Regions from separate parts of the Homo sapiens genome. Here all the other regions are linked to region 1. The links are contacts of gene promoters, found by promoter capture Hi-C in blood cells and fetal thymus (Javierre and others, 2016). All regions are on one chromosome and are shown on one strand. The core of a region is centred on a gene start or on the middle of the fragment in contact, and the rest is flanking DNA. Distances in the headings are between cores, read along the strand shown. Region 1 holds the start of GPR180 (G protein-coupled receptor 180). Region 2 has its middle 63 kb from the start of DCT. Region 3 overlaps DCT (dopachrome tautomerase).

The links. The method cuts DNA at HindIII sites, captures the fragments that hold promoters and counts their contacts. A CHiCAGO score of 5 or more calls a contact.
Region 2: a fragment that was not itself captured here is called in contact with the fragment with the promoter of GPR180 in region 1 in 5 of 17 cell types (naive CD4 T cells, total CD4 T cells, activated CD4 T cells and 2 more); the score reaches 6.7 in naive CD4 T cells.
Region 3: a contact is called between a fragment that was not itself captured here and the fragment with the promoter of GPR180 in region 1, in 6 of 17 cell types (naive CD4 T cells, activated CD4 T cells, naive CD8 T cells and 3 more). The highest score is 8.1, in naive CD4 T cells.

What each region holds. Positions count from the first base shown.
Region 1 is chr13:94,600,396-94,603,227 of GRCh38, forward strand. It overlaps GPR180 (G protein-coupled receptor 180), which reads left to right and starts at 1,462. Exons shown (of 9, transcript NM_180989.6): 1 at 1,462-1,677. The coding sequence starts at 1,533. RefSeq lists an enhancer at 1,200-1,494 and a silencer at 1,273-1,872. The HindIII fragment of the contact is 8,659 bases long and covers 1-2,832 here.
Region 2 is chr13:94,415,532-94,418,363 of GRCh38, forward strand. No RefSeq gene overlaps it. Among named protein-coding and RNA genes, the nearest start is that of DCT, 63 kb to the right of the region's middle. The HindIII fragment of the contact is 2,659 bases long and covers 37-2,695 here.
Region 3 is chr13:94,452,107-94,454,938 of GRCh38, forward strand. The region is part of intron 6 of DCT (dopachrome tautomerase); the gene reads right to left. Among named protein-coding and RNA genes, the nearest start is that of DCT, 26 kb to the right of the region's middle. The HindIII fragment of the contact is 5,711 bases long and covers 1-2,832 here.

The DNA of each region.
Region 1 (2,832 bases), core at 212-2,711:
GCAGATCACCTGAGGTCGGGAGTTTGGGACCAGTCTGATCAACATGGAGAAATCCCATCTCTACTAAAAATAAAAAATTAGTCGGGCATGGTGGCGCATGCCTGCAGTCCCAGCTTCTCGGGAGGCTGAGGTGGGATAATCGCTTGAATCCGGGAGGCAGAGGTTGAGGTGAGCCGAGATCGCGCCATTGCACTCCAGTCTGAGCAACAAGAGTGAAACTCCGTCTCAAAAAAAAAAAAAGTGTAGTCACTGACCAGCTGGAGCTGACAATAGAGGCGGAGATTTCAGACACATGAATGGATACTTACAGTACAGTGCGTGAGTGCTCTGGTAGGGAAGTAAGGGATTCTGGTTCCAGGGGCATCTACTACAGACTTAGGGGTTTGAGAAAGGCTTCTTAAAGTGCCTTGGGAAGGAGGAGTAAAGGAGGAAAAGGAAGGTGAGGAGGTCCAGTGTTGGAATAAGCAGAAGTATTCTAGCCAGAGGGATCAGGGAGTGATATAGGCCTAGAAGGGAGAACTTGGGAGTGTTCAGGAAACCAACGGCGGTAAGGATGGAGATGAGAAAAAACAGACATTTGAGAGTTGAAGAGCCATATTCTAGAGTTTGGGTTGTGTGCTAAAGGCAATTGAGAACCTTTCAAGGCAAGTGCAGCAAATTGTTTCCTACAGCTTTCTGTGGCTGTAGGGTAGAGATGGATTGTAGCCAATTAGAATGAAGACTGTAGAGACGGTCTTTGCCATAGGCCAACAAAGTGATGAACTGAGTAGGACTGTGGCCGCTGCTTCCCACCCTCACCAGAAGAAGGGCTAATCCACACTTGTTATTGAATTGATTGAATTGCGGGGGGGGGGGGGCCTACAATTCCCAGCGGTCTGGTCTGCGGGCGGGGGTGGGGGTGGGGGTAATGTAATTCGAGAAGCCAGAGAACCTAGGAGGGAAAAATCGGCTGGAGATGCCAAGAGAAGGCATGCGTTAAATTGTGGTCATGCGGAGCTAAGTGTCTTTGAGACATTAAATCGGACACGTCCTGTAGGTTATACAGGCGCCAAGGAAGAAAATCTGCATAAGAACACAGTTTTTTCTTTGCGGGAGTTTAACTCTCTCGGCCAGAAACAGTCCTGTCCTGCATTTCTTAAGTTTTTTCCGAATCCCACAAGCCCTTCGAAGGCCCCGCGGACTCGTGCCAGCGCGCCCGCGCATGCTCAGTAGCAAGACGTGCTAGGCAATGAGGAGGGAGATGAGTTTTCCGTAACCTGAAGCAACATCCTCCTGATTCCTCATTAAAGAAAAAGGCGGGAACTAGTCAAAAGCCGGGGACTGATGGGACGCTAGGATCTGCGCGTCCCGCCCATTTCGGCCTCTGACTGGTGAATGTCTTCGGCTTATGGCAGAGGAGCCCGCCTCATTGGCTCTCAGGCTCCAGAGCAGCAGGTCTCCGGCGCCCACCCCGCCTCCCCCAGCTGCCGACGTGGGGCGGGCAGCCGCCGGCGGCTGGGAGCCGAGGCGTCGGTGCAGACCTGGAGACGGGCATGGGGGGGCTGCGGCTGCTGGCTGTGGCCCTCACGTGCTGCTGGTGGCCGCAGGGCAGCCAGGGTAAGACCCTGCGGGGCAGCTTCAGCAGCACCGCGGCCCAGGACGCCCAGGGCCAGCGCATCGGCCACTTCGAGTTCCATGGTAGGTCTGGGGGCGGGGAGGGGGATGAAGGCGCGCTGGCCCATCCCGCCGGCTGAGTCCGCCGGCCGCTCCTCCCGGCCCCTCCCTGCCACGTTGGGCGAGGCCGGCGACTTCCCCAGCCTCACCTGGACCTCCAGCGTTGCAGCAGCTGCCGCGAATGGTGGGATGCGTTCCTTGCCAACCCCGCTGGTGCGGCTTTCCAGCCCCAGGCAGCGGCCTCTCGCCACTAGTGATCGTGTTCCGCACCTGAAAGCTGGTTTCCATTTCCCCAACCCTCCCCTTGGAAGCCAATGTGCAAAAGACTGGTCGGCCGCATCTTTCCAGATCCTTCCCGCAAAGAAGCATATTTGCTCCTTCCTGTCTCGGCCACACTGTGACGGGAGAATTTAACCCTAGAAACTTAAATTTCCTTTTTTTTTTTTTTTTTTTTAAAGACCAATTTCCTGAGACCTACTTGCAACAGAGTGGTTTTGGAAACCAAGTAAAACACTTGATAATGTAGTTGTTATATTGAGCAGTTTGGTTACTTGGCTACTAGGGCAGTAGATTTACTATGGGCAGTAAGGCCTAGAATTAAGCTGATGAAAATGCATTTAAGTAGCATCTTGGAAGCTCCCTAATTTGTGTTCTGTGTGGCTCTTCTGAAATCAGAGTTGCGTTTGATTTCAGACCTTTTGGTCTTCCTCAAAAATCAGTAATTATTCCTTCAATAAATGCATTTGCAATTCATTCTAATTTTGGTCTCATTTGCACTCTCACAATTTAAGTGTTTTTCTTGGTACTCTTAATTTGACTAGTGCTGTATTTCAAATAATTATTTGCCTTGATGACATTAGGAACTTTGATTTGTACAGTCTTTAGCATTAAAAGATGCAACGATGAACATCAGAATATTGGCCTAGAAAATATTGTTAGGAGAAGATAATAGAAACGGAACTACTTTGGTGAGAAAAGGAATTTAAAGTATTGGGAAATTACAGAATTGACAGAATAAAGGGAAGGGATCCTGATTTTTTTTTTTTTTGAAGTTTTTAAGATAGCTAAGAAAAGGAGTTTCAGTAACCCAGTTTTTCAAAATCCAATGTGGAATATATTTTGGGTGAATGAAGAAGAAACACTAGAAACAATTTTATTATTTTTTGTAACATTTTGAGT
Region 2 (2,832 bases), core at 116-2,615, 180 kb before region 1:
GTGATATTGTGTTGTTAGACAAAGGCAATCTTGAAAAGCTTTCAAGGTAACATTTAAAAAGTAATCCTTTATTAGGTTGCCTAGCAAGATGCCCCATAAGTACTTAAAACCCGTAAGACGGTTGAGCTCAGATAAAGAATGCGTTACCAGATGGAGACAGTAATTACCCTGTCCCCGAACTCTAATTGTATTTACCCTGCCTTTTGCCTACGAAGTTGACAATACAATATCTGGCTTTTCAACTGGAGCACACCATTTCATATTTCCTGCTGGTACACATATATTAATGAATGGGTGCTTTCATTAACAAAAGTGTAAGACAAGAATATTTCAGTCATGCTGTTACACCTACTGCCTGATATAGATCATAAAGGACAAGAATAAAATTTAATTTGCAATAACTCTTTGGAGCTACAGTAATAGCTGCCCAGGAGTTCTTTGTCAGAGCATCTTGGCTTTTCATTAAGTACTCAGCCACTAAATTTTTTTCAATTCTGGCAGAAGCAGCCAGGGAACACTTTGGGAGCTCTATAAAAGGCACTCTCCTAATCTTCAAATCATTGGAAAGACTCTTTAGCATCTGTTAAAATATTTTTCCCTTCTAATCTGCCTGAAACTAACAGGGAGAAAATTCTGAGATGTTTCTTAATTAAGCAGTAAGAAATGGTGACGGGTGGTCTGCACTGACTTAATCACAGTTGTAAAGCATGAAAAAGGAAAAAGAGTTAAGTACCCCTAAATCCTCAGGCATCTGACTTCCCCAAGAATGTGCCTTATTGCTATTAGTAAGAAGTCTTTCCTCAGTTTGAATGAGGGAGATCCAAATGATGTGAAAAAAAAAAACTCAAACTCAAGAAAGAGTGAAGGCTGTGAGTGATGTAGGAAAAAACAAAAAACAAAACAAAAAAAAACACCCAGCAAAGCAAATTTCTACCTTTGGCAAGAGGGGAGGAAAGAGTGATGAAGGCGCCAGTCCTAGGGCAAAGGGCTCTTGCTTCTGTGCAGTTATTACTTAGCCTAGTAGCTTCTGAGTGTGGCCTGCAGGACTGCCTCCTTGACCAAGCAGGTAATGCAATTGCAGCAACTGCAAAGTATGAGGCAACAAGGAAGGTGCTGGCTGCAACTAAGCAGCATGAGCTAGCGCCACCTAAAGGGATTCCTGTGCAATTCCAAGGCATTCATTCCGCACACAGCTGGTAAAGACAGGTCTGAGAGCAAAAATCTCCTTCCCCAAAACCAGTTTGTAACCCCTTTCTTAAAATCACCGTGAATGTGAGAATCTAAACCCTTAACCTACTTGCTAATCCCCATTTTCAAACTAGGACTTAGAGTCCCTACAAACTACTTACTAGCAAATCCTGAGAGCTTACCAGATAAGCATCTCAGGTAAACATTCTATCTATTCAGACCATTGACCCAGGAGATTTTTCCTGCTGCGTTTATTAAAACCCAAGACGAAAAGCAAGAATTAATTCTGGAATAGTCTTTTACACCGTTGATACACTTCTCACATCTGTGAAAATTTTATCCATGTCTCAGTTTGCATAATTGTATTGAATGATCTGTTAAGAACTGTTATAACAGCAAAAACAACAAAAAAATGCTCATTTGTTCTGCCATAATAATTGTCTATTTTATCTGAAGATGGTCAGAATATGCCACCCCAAAATATGCCACTTTCACATAAGAATTATTTTGAGCTGAAGACAATTGAGAAATACCAGACATAAGAGGAATTCTCCCTCCTCCCCATTTTTGCCTAAAAGTAGGGCATAAATTTCCCATTGTAAAGTTGACACAAATTTTTATTTGTAAAGGTGTTCACATCTTCCTTACTAGAAAGAGGAGAGAGCTGTTATTTGCATAACAATCTTACCAAACAACTCTTATCTACTATATATTTTTAGTCACCTTCCCACAACTTACCTCCCCTAGGAGCCCCAATCCCCCTTTCCTTTATCTAGGTCTCCAGAATTTATCACCCTCTGTTAGGATGGTATATAAGCTATCAATTCTAACCAGCCCTCTGAGTTACTCATCAGTGAGTTCTCCCTCATGTCCTACATATACCATGTGTAAATAGGCTCTGGTTTTTTTTCTTCTTTTAACCTGTATTTTATCAGTTTAATTCATAGGCCTGGCACTAAACCTAAGATGATAGAGGAAAAGTTTTTAGCCCCTTACCTATTCTTATAAGAATTATATGAAATAAGTATGCCATACTACCAACTCACTTCATGTTATTTATCATTTCATTTTCCTCCACAAAGAGGCCAAAATCTGGTGGTTTGAAAGACCTCATTAAGTATAGGAATTAAATATAGTACTGGTGTTTTTGTAATTCATTACTTGCAGATTTCATACTTGCTAGTTCACCTACTCATTAAAATTCATTTTCATAGTGATTTGCAGACATGCATATGCACAGAGCAGTGACAAATTTAACTCATCTGATGCCCACATTCTAGCTGAGGTTCAACAAGGTGATGCTCTGCCTTCTCATTTCAACTCTCATACTAAAACTAGTGTTCTTTTCACAGTCTATTTAGTGCCATCTTTTTCTCAGTTTTGTGCTTTCTGTTGATTTTGCTGTTTACAATGTCCCCCACCAAATGTGGTGCTGAAGTGCTGTGTAGTGTTCCTAAAGCTGAGGAGTTCTTGAGGTGTCTTACAGAGAAAATGCATGTGTTAGATAAGCTTCGTTCAGGCATGTTACAGTGTTTGTGGTGGCAAGTTGAAAGTTAATTAATCAATAATGTAAATTATATATATTAAATAAGATGTCTTTAAACAGAAACACAATTAAATAGTTATATGTTTATCAGTTGATTA
Region 3 (2,832 bases), core at 134-2,633, 150 kb before region 1:
ACTGCAACCTCCACCTCCCGGGTTCAAGTGATTCTCCTGCCTCAGCCTCCCAAGCAGCTGAGACTACAGGTGCCTAACACCACACCCGGCTAATTTTTGTATTTTTAGTAGAGACAAGGTTTCACCATGTTGGCCAGGCTGGTCTTGAACTCCTGACCTCAGGTAACCCACCCACCTCAGCCTCCCAAAGTGCTGGGATTACAGGCGTGAGCCACTGCATCTGGCCTAGACTTCACTTATAAGAAGAGAAATGCAAATTAAAATTTGCTAAAATGCCTTTTCACCTATCACGTTGACAAAGATGAAAAAGTGTGATGACACAGGGACAAAGAGCATAATGAGAGGGAATGATGGGGGAACTGTGGCTCTGACACATAGGTGACACACAGGTATTAGGAGGGAATATTGTCCAAACTTCTAGAGGCAATTCTGTAACATTTATCAAATTTCAAATGCATTTTTTTACCCTTTAAGCCAGGGATTCTATTCTCTTTACTTACCTTACATGTTCAAGGATGTTTGTTGTAGCATTGTAAAGCAAACGATTAGAAATCACCTAAATGTCCATCAACAGAAAATAGTTTAAAATCTTAAATTTAAAATTAAAATAATACATTTCAGGATAAATCCATGCAAAAGAATACTATACAGCTATAAAAAAAGAATAAGAATGCCCTTCAGAACTGAAATGATTTGGAATAAGTTAAAAAAAAAGTGGGGGAAAGGCAAAGGGACAGAGGGGTCTATAATATGCTACCATGTAGATAAATATATAAACATATTTGTTTGTGTATTTATAAAATATATCTGGAAAATTAGAAAAAAATTGTATTGTTTGCTGGAAGATGGTAGTGATAATACGGACTTCATTTTATACATTTTATATTTTGAATCTTTTATGTGCACTAAGATTTTAAGATGAAAAAATTTAGAAAACTATGCAACAACCTAAAAATTAAATAAATTAAGTGATAATGGGATATTATACATAATAGGTGCCTTATAGAGATGGTCCTCTGAATCCAATTATAAGTAATCTAGACATGATTTAGAGTATACAGAAGGATGTGCGTACCTTATATGCAAATATAATGCCATTTTATATAAGGGACTTGAGTAGTCACAGATTTTGGTACCCATGGTGGGGGGTCCTGGAACTAATTCCCTCAAGATATTGAGGGATGACTATAATTGCAACTGTATAAAACATATGAGAATATGAAAAGAAATAAACAAAAAAATTGAGATGGAATTACAGGCATTTAAAAACTATTTTCACCAACATTTCTGTAATTATAAATAATATAAAAATCATAAACCAATAAAAATAAAAATTTCACATACAACAATGTTATTTTATTTTTTTACAATATTAGTCTAATTATGATTTTTCTTATTTAAAGTAAAGCAAAATGGATCTATCTTTAAATGTTTCACTCTTGGGAAGAAAAAAGCAATGCCCTATTGATATGGTTTAGCTGTGTTCCCACCCAAATCTCATCTTGAATTGTAGCTCCCACAGTTCCCACATGTTGTGGAAGGGATGTAATTGAATCATGGGGGTGGGTCTTTCCCATGCTGTTCTTATGATAGTGAATAAGTCTCATGAGATCTGATGGTTTTATAAATGAGAGTTTTCCTGCACAAGTTCTCTCTTGGCTGCCACCATGTAAGATGTGCTTTTCACCTTCCACCATGATCGTGAGGTCTCCCCAGCCACATAGAACTGTAAGTCCATTAAACCTCTTTTTCTCTATAAATTACTCAGTCTCAGATACATCTTTATCAGCAGCATGAAAACAGACTGATACACCTATCCTTCTTTTTTTAAATTTCAACTAAACTCACTCTAACTCAGAATTATTTATACCTGTAATTGTGAGCTTTTGATTTCACTAACTTTGTTGTAGCCTAGAACAGCAGACTCAGAAGGGCTCTTTCTTACAGGGTTAATTTATGGTAGTCCATCAGCTATGTGTGGTTTTAGAAATTCATTTTCTCCTGCTGCACATTTTCTAAATTAATGAACTTATTTTATACACTGATTAGTAATAAGACTACTGTATGTTGTATTCCATTTAGAATGTCAACGTACAAGGTAGAAAACAGGCACGAGCTGTTTAGTATTAATTATGGAACCTATGGACCCCCCAGCCACTGATGAATTGAAGGAACGTAGAACTCACCAAATGTACTTTCTAAAAGGATAACATCCAAGTATACTCTTAAGAATAGTATCTTTAGGAATTGGGAAGGAAATTACCACTATGTAACACAGTTTCTTTCTTGGCATTTAAATAACTTTACAGTCTGTTGGTTTCCTTTTTTTTCTCTTTTCTGGATTATATCTAAATTTAATATTGAAGACAGCACTTAGCATTTCTCTGGCCTAATCTTATTTTCCATGATAAATGTGTGCATTTGCCTCAATTACCTTAGGAATTACTAGAGATTGCTTCAGAGTTTTTCCTGCACTTTAATGTTCTGCCTTCTTTTGCTCATTATTGTGATCACATACAATTTTGTAGCTCTATTGCTTGGAGAGATTTCACAAAAAAAATTTTAATAAATGTCATGTGCAATATATTTGCATGAATTGCCTCATGAATTTGAAATTCCAGAAGCTATAACTCTGTTAACTGAAATACTTTAACCTGGATCTCAATATGTGAAAAATCATTTAAGGCTGAATTGGCTTCAGCATAAAACTCTTTGAAAATAGCCTAAAGTAATGGTGAGTTCTGGAACTAGGCCCAAAACATTATTCATTCTGTGCCTTTAAAGAAACGCTGTGGCTTTTTGTTTATTTATATGTATATTACACATACTACT